2 separate regions of the Homo sapiens genome follow, and region 1 is linked to region 2. The links are contacts of gene promoters, found by promoter capture Hi-C in human tissues and cell types (Jung and others, 2019). All regions are on one chromosome and are shown on one strand. Each heading gives the region's core, a stretch centred on a gene start or on the middle of the fragment in contact. The rest is flanking DNA. Distances are from core to core; before and after follow the strand shown.

Region 1 (4,369 bases), core at 636-3,135, 200 kb before region 2:
AAAATGTAATCACATTTATTTGTTTATTGGCTGCCTATTCCACCAGTAGATAAACTCCCTGAGGTCAGGGCCCTGTCTGTTTTGTTTACCATTGTAATTCCAACACCTACTTTGACCCCTTTCCTTATTCCATAAGTCTTAGTCAATCCATTAGCGAATCCTATTGACTTTATCATCCAACTATATCCAGAATCAGGTCACTTCCCAGCTCTTCCATCCTGCTACCCTGGTCCAAGGCCTGAACCTTCCATAGACCCTATCTATTAAAGGGTTTTCTGAAAGAAAACTCTGCCTTCCATTGCCCGTTAGTTACTATCTACACTCAACAACCAGAATAAGCCTTTCAAGATATAAATGAAAAAATATTCCGTTCCTCTGCTTACAATGTCCAGTGGCTTCTAATCATAGAGCCTTGCATGATTTACTTCCCAATTCCTTCTCTACTTTAGCCATAATGATCACTTTGCTGTTCTTCAGCACATTAAGCATATTCAAGGTCATAGCACTTGCTGTTACCTCTAACTGGAATACTATTGCTAATGACTCAGTTCCTCACTTCACTCAGGCCTCAGTTTAAATGTCATCTTATTGGAAAGTGTTTCCTCGACCAGTATCTATAAAATAGCAGCCTCCACCTGCCAATCTTTTTCTCTGTACATCATAATGCAATTTATTTTCTTTTGAGTGCTTATTAACAACCAATGTGTTCTGTATGTTTTTATTTATACCTTTCTTCTCCCACTGTCATGTAAATTTTCTCACCACAGGGATTTAGTCTTTTCTTTTTATTACCGTATCCTCTATGTCAAGGACTGGACCTGATACACTTAACAGCTGGGTGCTCCATATAAGTTTGCTAAATGAATTTTAAAATGAGCTAATGAATAAATCGCATAGAAATCATGCTTTTAAAAAAGTAATCTATGGGCTTCCATTCCAAGATGGCTGAGTAGGAACAGCTCCGGTCTTCAGCTCCCAGTGTGATCAATGCAGAAGACAGGTGATTTCTGTGGTTACAACTGAGGTATCTGGCTCATCTCATTGTGACTGGTCGGACAGTGAGTGCAGCCCATGGAGGGTGAGCTGAAGCAGAGTGGGGCATTGCCTCACCCGAGAAGTGCAAGGGATCAGGGGATTTCCCTTTCCTAGACAAGGGAAGCCATGACAGACTGTACTGGGAAAAACGGGACACTCCAGCCCAAATACTGTGCTTTTCCCAAGGTCTTAGCAACCAGCAGACAAGGAGATTCTCTCCAGTGCCTGACTCCGCAGGTCCCATGCCCACAGAGCCTTGCTCACTGCTAGTGCAGCAGTCTGAGATTGAACTGTGTGGCAGCAGCCTGGCTGGGGGAGGGGCATCTGCCATTACTGAGGCTTGAATAGGTAAACAAAGCAGCCAGGAAGCTCGAACTGGGTGGAGCCCACTGCAGCTCAGCAAGGCCTACTGCCTCTGTAGACTCCACCTCTGTGGGCAGGGCATAGCTGAACAAAAGGCAGTAGACAACTTCTGCAGACTTAGACATCCCCGTCTGACAGCTCTGAAGAGAGCAGTGGTTCTCCCAGCATGGCGTTTGAGCTCTGAGAACAGACAGACTGCCTCCTCACATGGGCGCTTGACCCCTGTGTAGCCTAACTGGGAGACACCTCCCAGTAGGGGCTGACAGACACCTCATACAGGTGGGTGCTCCTCTGGGACAAAGCTTCCAGAGGAAGGATCAGGCAGCAATATTTACTGCTCTGCAATATTTGCTGTTCTGCAACCTCTGCTGGTGATACCCAGGGAAACACGGTCTGGAGTGGACCTCCAGCAAACTCTAACAGACCTGCAGCTGAGGGCCTTGACTGCTAGAAGGAAAACCAACAAGCAGAAAGGAATAGCATCGACATCAACAAAAAGGACATCTACACCAAAACCCCATCTGTAGGTCTGTAGGTCACCAGCATCAAAGACCAAAGGTAGATAAAACCACAAAGATGGGGAAAAACCAGAGCAGAAAAGCTGAAAATTCTAAAAATCAGAGTGCCTCTTCTCCTCTAAAGGATTGCAGCTCCTTGCCAGCAACGGAACACAGCTGGATGGAGAATGACTTTGACGAGTTGACAGAAGTAGGCTTCAGAAGATCGGTAATAACAAACTTCTCTGAGGTAAAGAAGCACGTTCTAACCCATCACAAGGAAGTTAAAAACCTTGAAAAAAGGTTAGACGAATGGCTAACTAGAATAAACAGTGTAGAGAAGATCTTAAATGACCTGATGGAGCTGAAAACCATGGCACAAGAACGTTGTGACACATGCACAAGCTTCAATAGCCAATTCGATCAAGTGGAAGAAAGGGTATCAGTGATTGAAAATCAAATTAATGGAATAAAGCGAGAGACAAGTTTAGAGAAAAAAGTGTAAAAAGAAATGAACAAAGCCTCCAAGAAATATAGGATGACGTGAAAAGACCAAATCTATGTTTGATTGGTGTAACTGAAAGTGATGGGGAGAATGGAACCAAGTTGGAAAACACTCTTCAGGATATTATCCAGGAGAACTTCCCCAACCTAGCAAGGCAGGCCAACATTCAAATTCAGGAAATACAGAGAATACCACAAAGATATTCCTTGAGAAGAGCAATTCCAAGACACATAATTGTCAGATTCACCAAGGTTGAAATGAAGGAAAAAATGTTAAGGGCAGCTAGAGAGAAAGGTCAGGTTACCCACAAAGGGAAGCCCATCGGACTAACAGCAGATCTCTCAGCAGAAACCTTACAAGCCAGAAGAGAGTGGGGACCAATATTCAACATTCTTAAGGAAAAGAATTTTTAACCCAGAATTTCATACCCAGCCAAACGAAGCTTCATAAGTGAAGGAGAAATAAAATCCTTTACAGACAAGCAAATGCTGAGAGATTTTGTCACCACCAGGCCTGCCTTATAAGAGCTCCTGAAGGAAGCACTAAACATGGAAAGGAACAACCAGTATCAGCCACTGCAAAAACATGCCAAATTGTAAACACCAACGATGCTAGGAAGAAACTGCATCAACTAACGGGCAAGATAGCTAGCTAACATCATAATGAAGGGATCATATTCACACATAACAATATTAACCTTAAATGTAAATGGGCTAAATGCCCCAATTAAAAGACACAGACTGGCAAATTGGATAAAGAGTCAAGACGCATCAGTGTGCTGTATTCAGGAGACCCATCTCACGTGCAGAGACACACATAGGCTCAAAATAAAGGGATGGAGGAAGATCTACCAAGCAAATGGAAAGCAAGAAAAAAAAAGCAGGGGTTGCAATCCTAGTCTCTGATAAAACAGACTTTAAACCAACAAAGATCAAAAGAGACGAAGAAGACCATTACATAATGGTATAGGGATCAAATTCAACAAGAAGAGCTAACTATCCTAAACATATATGCACCCAATACAGGAGCATCCAGATTTATAAAGCAAGTCCTCAGAGACCTACAAAGAGACTTAGACTCCCACACAATAATAATGGGAGACTTTAGCACCCCACTGTCAATATTAGACAGATCAATGAGTCAGAAAGTTAACAAGGATATCCAGGACTTGAACTCAGCTCTGCACCAAGCAGACCTAATAGACATCTACAGAACTCTCCATCCCAAATCAACAGAATGTACATTCTTCTCAGCACAACATCACACTTGTTTTAAAATTGAGCACATAATTGGAAGTAAAGCACTCCTCAGCAAATGTAAAAGAACTGAAACCACAACAAACTGTCTTTCGGACCACAGTGCAATCAAATTAGAATTCAGGATTAAGAAATTCACTCAAAACCACAGAACTACATGGAAACTGAACAACCTGCTCCTGAATGACTACTGGGTAAATAACGAAATGAAGCCAGAAATAAAGATGTTCTTTGAAACCAGTGAGAACAAAGACACAACATACCAGAATCTCTGGGACACATTTAAAGCAGTGTGTAGAGGGAAATTTATAGCACCATAAATGCCCACAAGAGAAAGCAGGAAAGATCTAAAATTGACACCCTAACATCACAATTAAAAGAACTAGATAAGCAAGAGCAAACAAATTCAAAAGCTAGCAGAAGGCAAGAAATAACTAAGATCAGAGCAGAACTCAAGGAGACAGAGACACAAAAAACCCTTCAAAAAATCAATGAATCCAGGAGCTGTTTTTTTTGAAAAGATCAACAAAATTGATAGACCACTAGCAAGACTAAAGAAGAAAAGAGAGAAAAATCAAATAGATGCAATAAAAAATGATAAAGGGGATATCACTACTGATCCCACAGAAATACAAACTACCATCAGAGAATACTATAAACAGGTCCATACAAATAAACTAGAAAATCTGGAAGAAATGGATAAATTCCTGGAC
Region 2 (4,855 bases), core at 1,223-3,722:
AGTGTCTGATGAGGACCCTCCTTCTGGTGCATAGACTGCCATCTTTTCTCTGTGCCCTCACATGGTAGAAGGGACAAGGGAGATCTCTAGGTTCTCTTTTCTTTTATTTATAAGAAAAACAGGCTTTTGCTATGTTAACCAGACTGGTCTTGAACTTCTGGCCTCAAGAGATCTTCCCACCTTAGCCTCCCAAAGTGCTGGGATTACAGGCATGAGCCACCATGCCTGGCCAGGGGTCTCTTTTCTTTTTTTAATTTCCAACTTTTATTTTAAGTTCAGGGGTACATGCGCAGGATGTGCAGGTTTGATACTTAGGTAAAAGTGTGCCATAGTGGTTTGCCACACAGATTGACCCATCACCTAGGTGTTAAGCCCAGCATCCATTAGCTATTCTTCCTGATGCTCTCCCTTCTCCCATCTCCCACCTTCTGATAGGCCCCAGTATGTGTTGTTCCCCATCCGGCTTCCTTCTAAAAGGCTAGCAATTGCAAGATCAGTTCAGCAATTGCCTGGAGCTAAGTCACAGCTTCCACAGTTCGGTCACCCCAGCTCCCTCAGGCCTAGCGGAGTCTGTGGATTACCTGATCAACCAGAATAGGATTTGCATCTGTGCTCTACGCCCCAGAATTCTGAAAAAGAAATCTAGAGCCATCTCCCCTTCCCCACAATGAGTTAAGCTTACTTGGATTCCTAATAGACATTTCTGGTGAGTGTCTGTAAAAGGGTTTGATCACCTGCAAAAATGAAGAAAACTGGGGCACCTGGCTCATTATTTAATCCTATGATACCAATGTCCTGTTTGTGAGTGAGAGAATTAAAGTATCAGGCTATAAACTTTACAAATAAAGCAACTAGTTAGAGAAGAATAAAGAGCAATGTAATTTTTCATGCACTCTTATCTACATGTTGAAAACATCAGAGCTAACAGAATTGTTCAGCAGTGAACACAGGTGAATAGATTTTCATTCTTTAAAAGCTTTAATTCTGAAGATTTTAAAGTGCTGTGCTATTGTCAAGCTTAGCGTGCTACAATAATGCAAGCCACAAATATGAGCTGCCTTCTTAATATTAACGTTCCTAGCAGCCACATTAAAGATGTAAAGAGAAGCAGGTGAAATTTTTACCTAAGCTATCTAAAATATTGTCATTTCAATGTGTAAACAATATAAAAATTATTAATAAGATGTTTTACTTTTTTTTACTAAATTCTTCAAAATCTGGTGCGTATTTTACACATAAAGCATATTTTGTGTGGACTAGCTACTTTTCTAGTGCTCAGAAACTACACGTGGCCCATGGCTGCCTTATTGAACAACATAGATGTAGATGAAATCATATGTTTTCCTTAGAGTAGCAAACAGGGATAGGTGGAGGGAGAGCCGGTATGGATTTGCCCCAGATCTCACAGGGAACCAGGATGCCAGCCAGGAAACTGACATCATTCTAATCTACAAACCATGTTCTCCAAGTTCTTTGGGGCCCCCAAATGTGCCCTCACTCTGACCCTTCCCCTGTCTGTCTCTGTCTCCTTTCTTCATTGTCTAGCTGGAGCCACTGTTGTATGGTGAACAGCACAGGATGTGGAGAAGGAGTCGGCTGGATTCCCAGCCTGTCCCTTGCAGGCTAATGACCTTGGGCAAGTTATTTAACCTCCCTGGTCTCAGATTTCTTTTCAATTAAATAGGATTAGTTCTTTCATCACTGAGGTCTGAGGATTATATAAAATCATAAATATAAACACCTCAGCACCAAATAAACACTATAGTTTTCAACTTTTTAATTATTATTTTTAAATGTGTGTGTGTGTGTGTGTGTGTGTTTGATGAAAACAAGAGTGGGGAAAAAATTGGAGACATGAGAAATGTTTAAAATATGTGTTAAAAATCCCAGGCCACATTCTACTCCTTCTTTAGTAATTGATGCTTAAAACTTCTCTCTGCGCTTATAAAAAGCATGACTTCAGCCCAGAGCCCCCTAAGCCTAGGTTATGCATACATACCCAAAGCACGAGAATAAAAAAGAGTTCTTGTTTTCAATAGAGTTTGTTCCATCACATAGCAATCCAGATAATAAGGGGGAGACACCCCACTGAGCACCATGCGGGGCTCTGCAAATACTGTAAATGTGCGAGGAAACATCACAGGTTCATATGAAGATGGCAAGAATTCTATCATCCAGAGGTCACAAGTTTCTCAGCCCCTGCAGGTTTCCCCACAATAAAATGGTGCTTTGCAGCCCTTAAGGAACCTTACCAGACTGAAACCTTTCAAGGTCCTAAAGCCTGAAGCATAAATGCTACACTCTATTTTCTAATTCAGCTGTAGCCCATACTCACCGCCTTGGGCTCTTTGAGAAGACTAATAAAATAAAGGGAAGACTCACCAGTTCATCCTCCTCTCCCTGGTTGAGCAAAGCCCGATGGTCCTTCTTACTGTTCTCTTCCATCTGAACTCAACCGGCGAGGATCTCTTCTGGCTAACTCCTTGGAGAAATGTCAAAATCCCTTGGGCTTCTGTGAACTTGGAATCGTCACAACTTGTGATTGCTCTTCCCAGGCGCTTTTAAAATCTCTTAGTACACACCTTGCCTATTAGACTAACAAAGGAAAGAGAGAAAATCTTCTCAGGAACAGGATTGGTCTGTTAATCTGGTTATTGTGGGTTTTTTTCCTAGTGTTTGTTTATTGAGCTAGATATGAGTGCCTCAAGACCTGAGGAATGACGGGGGAAGAAGTTGGCAAACTAGAAGGAGAAATCATTTTGTATGCGATCCATAAATGTCTCAGCCAAGGAATGAGAATAGTCACTTTGCTAAAAACCTAAGATAAAAGGATTAGCCAGTGAGAGATGTATAAAAACCCTGCAGACTTTGAAAAAGTAATGAACATATTGGGGGTGACAATGAGAATTGAAGGAAGGGAGGTAGGCTCATGATAGAGAATGTAGGAATCATTTTGGAATTAGAAAAATCTGAGTTCTAATCCGTGCTTCACTGAAGACCCTGGACAAATCACTTAAAATCTGGAATTTCAGTTTCTAGTACATAAAATGTCAATAATAACTATACAGTAATATAAAGATTTAAGATGATAGTCATAAAAAGCCAACGATAGCACCCACCACAGTCACTAAGAGAGAAATAATCATCATCATAATCATTACACTAACCAAGAAGAAAGAGGCTTTAAAAAGTAAACTATATTAATAACTTGATTCTTTTCATTTTCTCTTTAGAGTTTACAAAAGTTTTCAAATGAGCAAAGTATGTGGAGGGAAGAGATGCTAGAAAGTCCGAGGATTAAGGATATAGCCCAAATTTCAACACCACTGAATTTGATATTTTGATTAGAAAATAGGTATACTGTGATCCATTCCAGAGTCAGTTAATTTGTTTGTGATGAAAACTTTTGTCATTTTATTGGCTCTTATTGTATCCTTGCACTTTGACTATGGAAGAAAATTTGCTGGGAATGAAAACTATTAGGGATGATACTTGGCTGTTTCTGCTGACTGAAATAGACACTGATTGCCTTGAGCAGGCATAAGTGTCCAACTTGGTGTTCAGGAGAGATCAACGTGCTCTCTGGCCAGGAGAAAGTGGCTGATGAGAATAAACAGGAAGACAACTAGAGCTCTTCATGCCAGAGGCTCCCGAGGTACCCATACTGAAGTATAATGTGCCGGTGTGAATGTTGCCTTGTAAGTAGTACCAATCTAAGGTAAAATGCATATTTGAAGAAAGGAGTTCTGGATTTTAGTAAAACTTCATTAAAGACACGAGTGGTGGCTATCATTCACTTCTTACCCATCCGCTATTTACTTGTATTTCTTGCTGAAAGAACCCCAACTTTGTGCAGCATGACTTCAGCTAAAAGCACCAAGATGAGTCAATGATTTGTCTATGGGTCGGCGTGTGGCCCAGTTCTAAACAATGAAATAGAAGAGAAAGACATGGTCTTGTGGGAAAGGTTATCTTGTTGATGAAACAGAGAGAAGAACATTTTTTTCTGTCTTCCCCTTTCTGCCTTTCTTTGAAAGTGATCCATGAAAATGCAATGCTTGGAGCATGGTAGCCATCTTTAGGTGGTGAGGAGGATGCAAATCACCATGAAAATTACGGTGAGAAAAGGACAAAAGAAGTTATATGCCTATAACACCACTGATTCATGGACCTACCTACCCCTAAACACCACATTAAATACACAATTAAACATTCTCATAAAGCCACTCTTGCTTGGGTTTTCTGTTACATATAGTCCAAAGATATACATAGCACTGGTCTTGACTCCATTCCACTTTTACTCAACAATTATGTACTGGAAAACAGATGTTCCAGACATTGTGCTAGGCCCTCGAATACAATGGTGTAAAGGAAAGAGCCCCTATCCTGAGAGAGTTTATAGTTACTTGGGAATGACAGATAACTAAGCAGCCTCTTAATTGGGAAATATACTAAACTCAGATTTAATGGAATACAAACAGGTTCCCAAAGGAAGTGACATTTATTCTGACATCTCAAAGATAAGCAGAAGTTAACAGATAGAAAGAATGGGGGATAGTGGCATCTGGTGAGCACAGTCTAGGCTGGGAGCAGAAGGTGTGGAAAGGGTCAAGCGAGGTGGGAAAGGAGCACCTATTCGGGGCATTAAGGGGAATAAAAGTAAGACTTGAGACTAGAAAGATGGGAAGTGATGAGTAATAATTATGATGGAGATGCAAACAAAGGTGTGCTCAAGAAGAGCTTGTCAACCATGGCGAGCTGGACTCTTGTCTGTCCACCGGCCAAGACCCAAGGCCTCAGCTCCTTCCCACTGAGGAACCAACACTCTTTGCCCTGTACAAGTACAAAATACCCA

What was found. Contacts are between HindIII fragments. The study calls those that stand out against the background at their distance.
Region 1: a fragment that was not itself captured here is called in contact with the fragment with the promoter of ATP13A5 in region 2 in 2 of the 25 tissues and cell types used here (aorta and stomach).

What each region holds. Positions count from the first base shown.
Region 1 is chr3:193,178,458-193,182,826 of GRCh38, forward strand. No RefSeq gene overlaps it. Among named protein-coding and RNA genes, the nearest start is that of PLAAT1, 61 kb to the right of the region's middle. The HindIII fragment of the contact is 3,807 bases long and covers 1-3,789 here.
Region 2 is chr3:193,376,281-193,381,135 of GRCh38, forward strand. ATP13A5 (ATPase 13A5) reads right to left here and starts at 2,473. Exons shown (of 30, transcript NM_198505.4): 1 at 2,383-2,473. The coding sequence starts at 2,445. The HindIII fragment of the contact is 10,323 bases long and covers 1-4,855 here.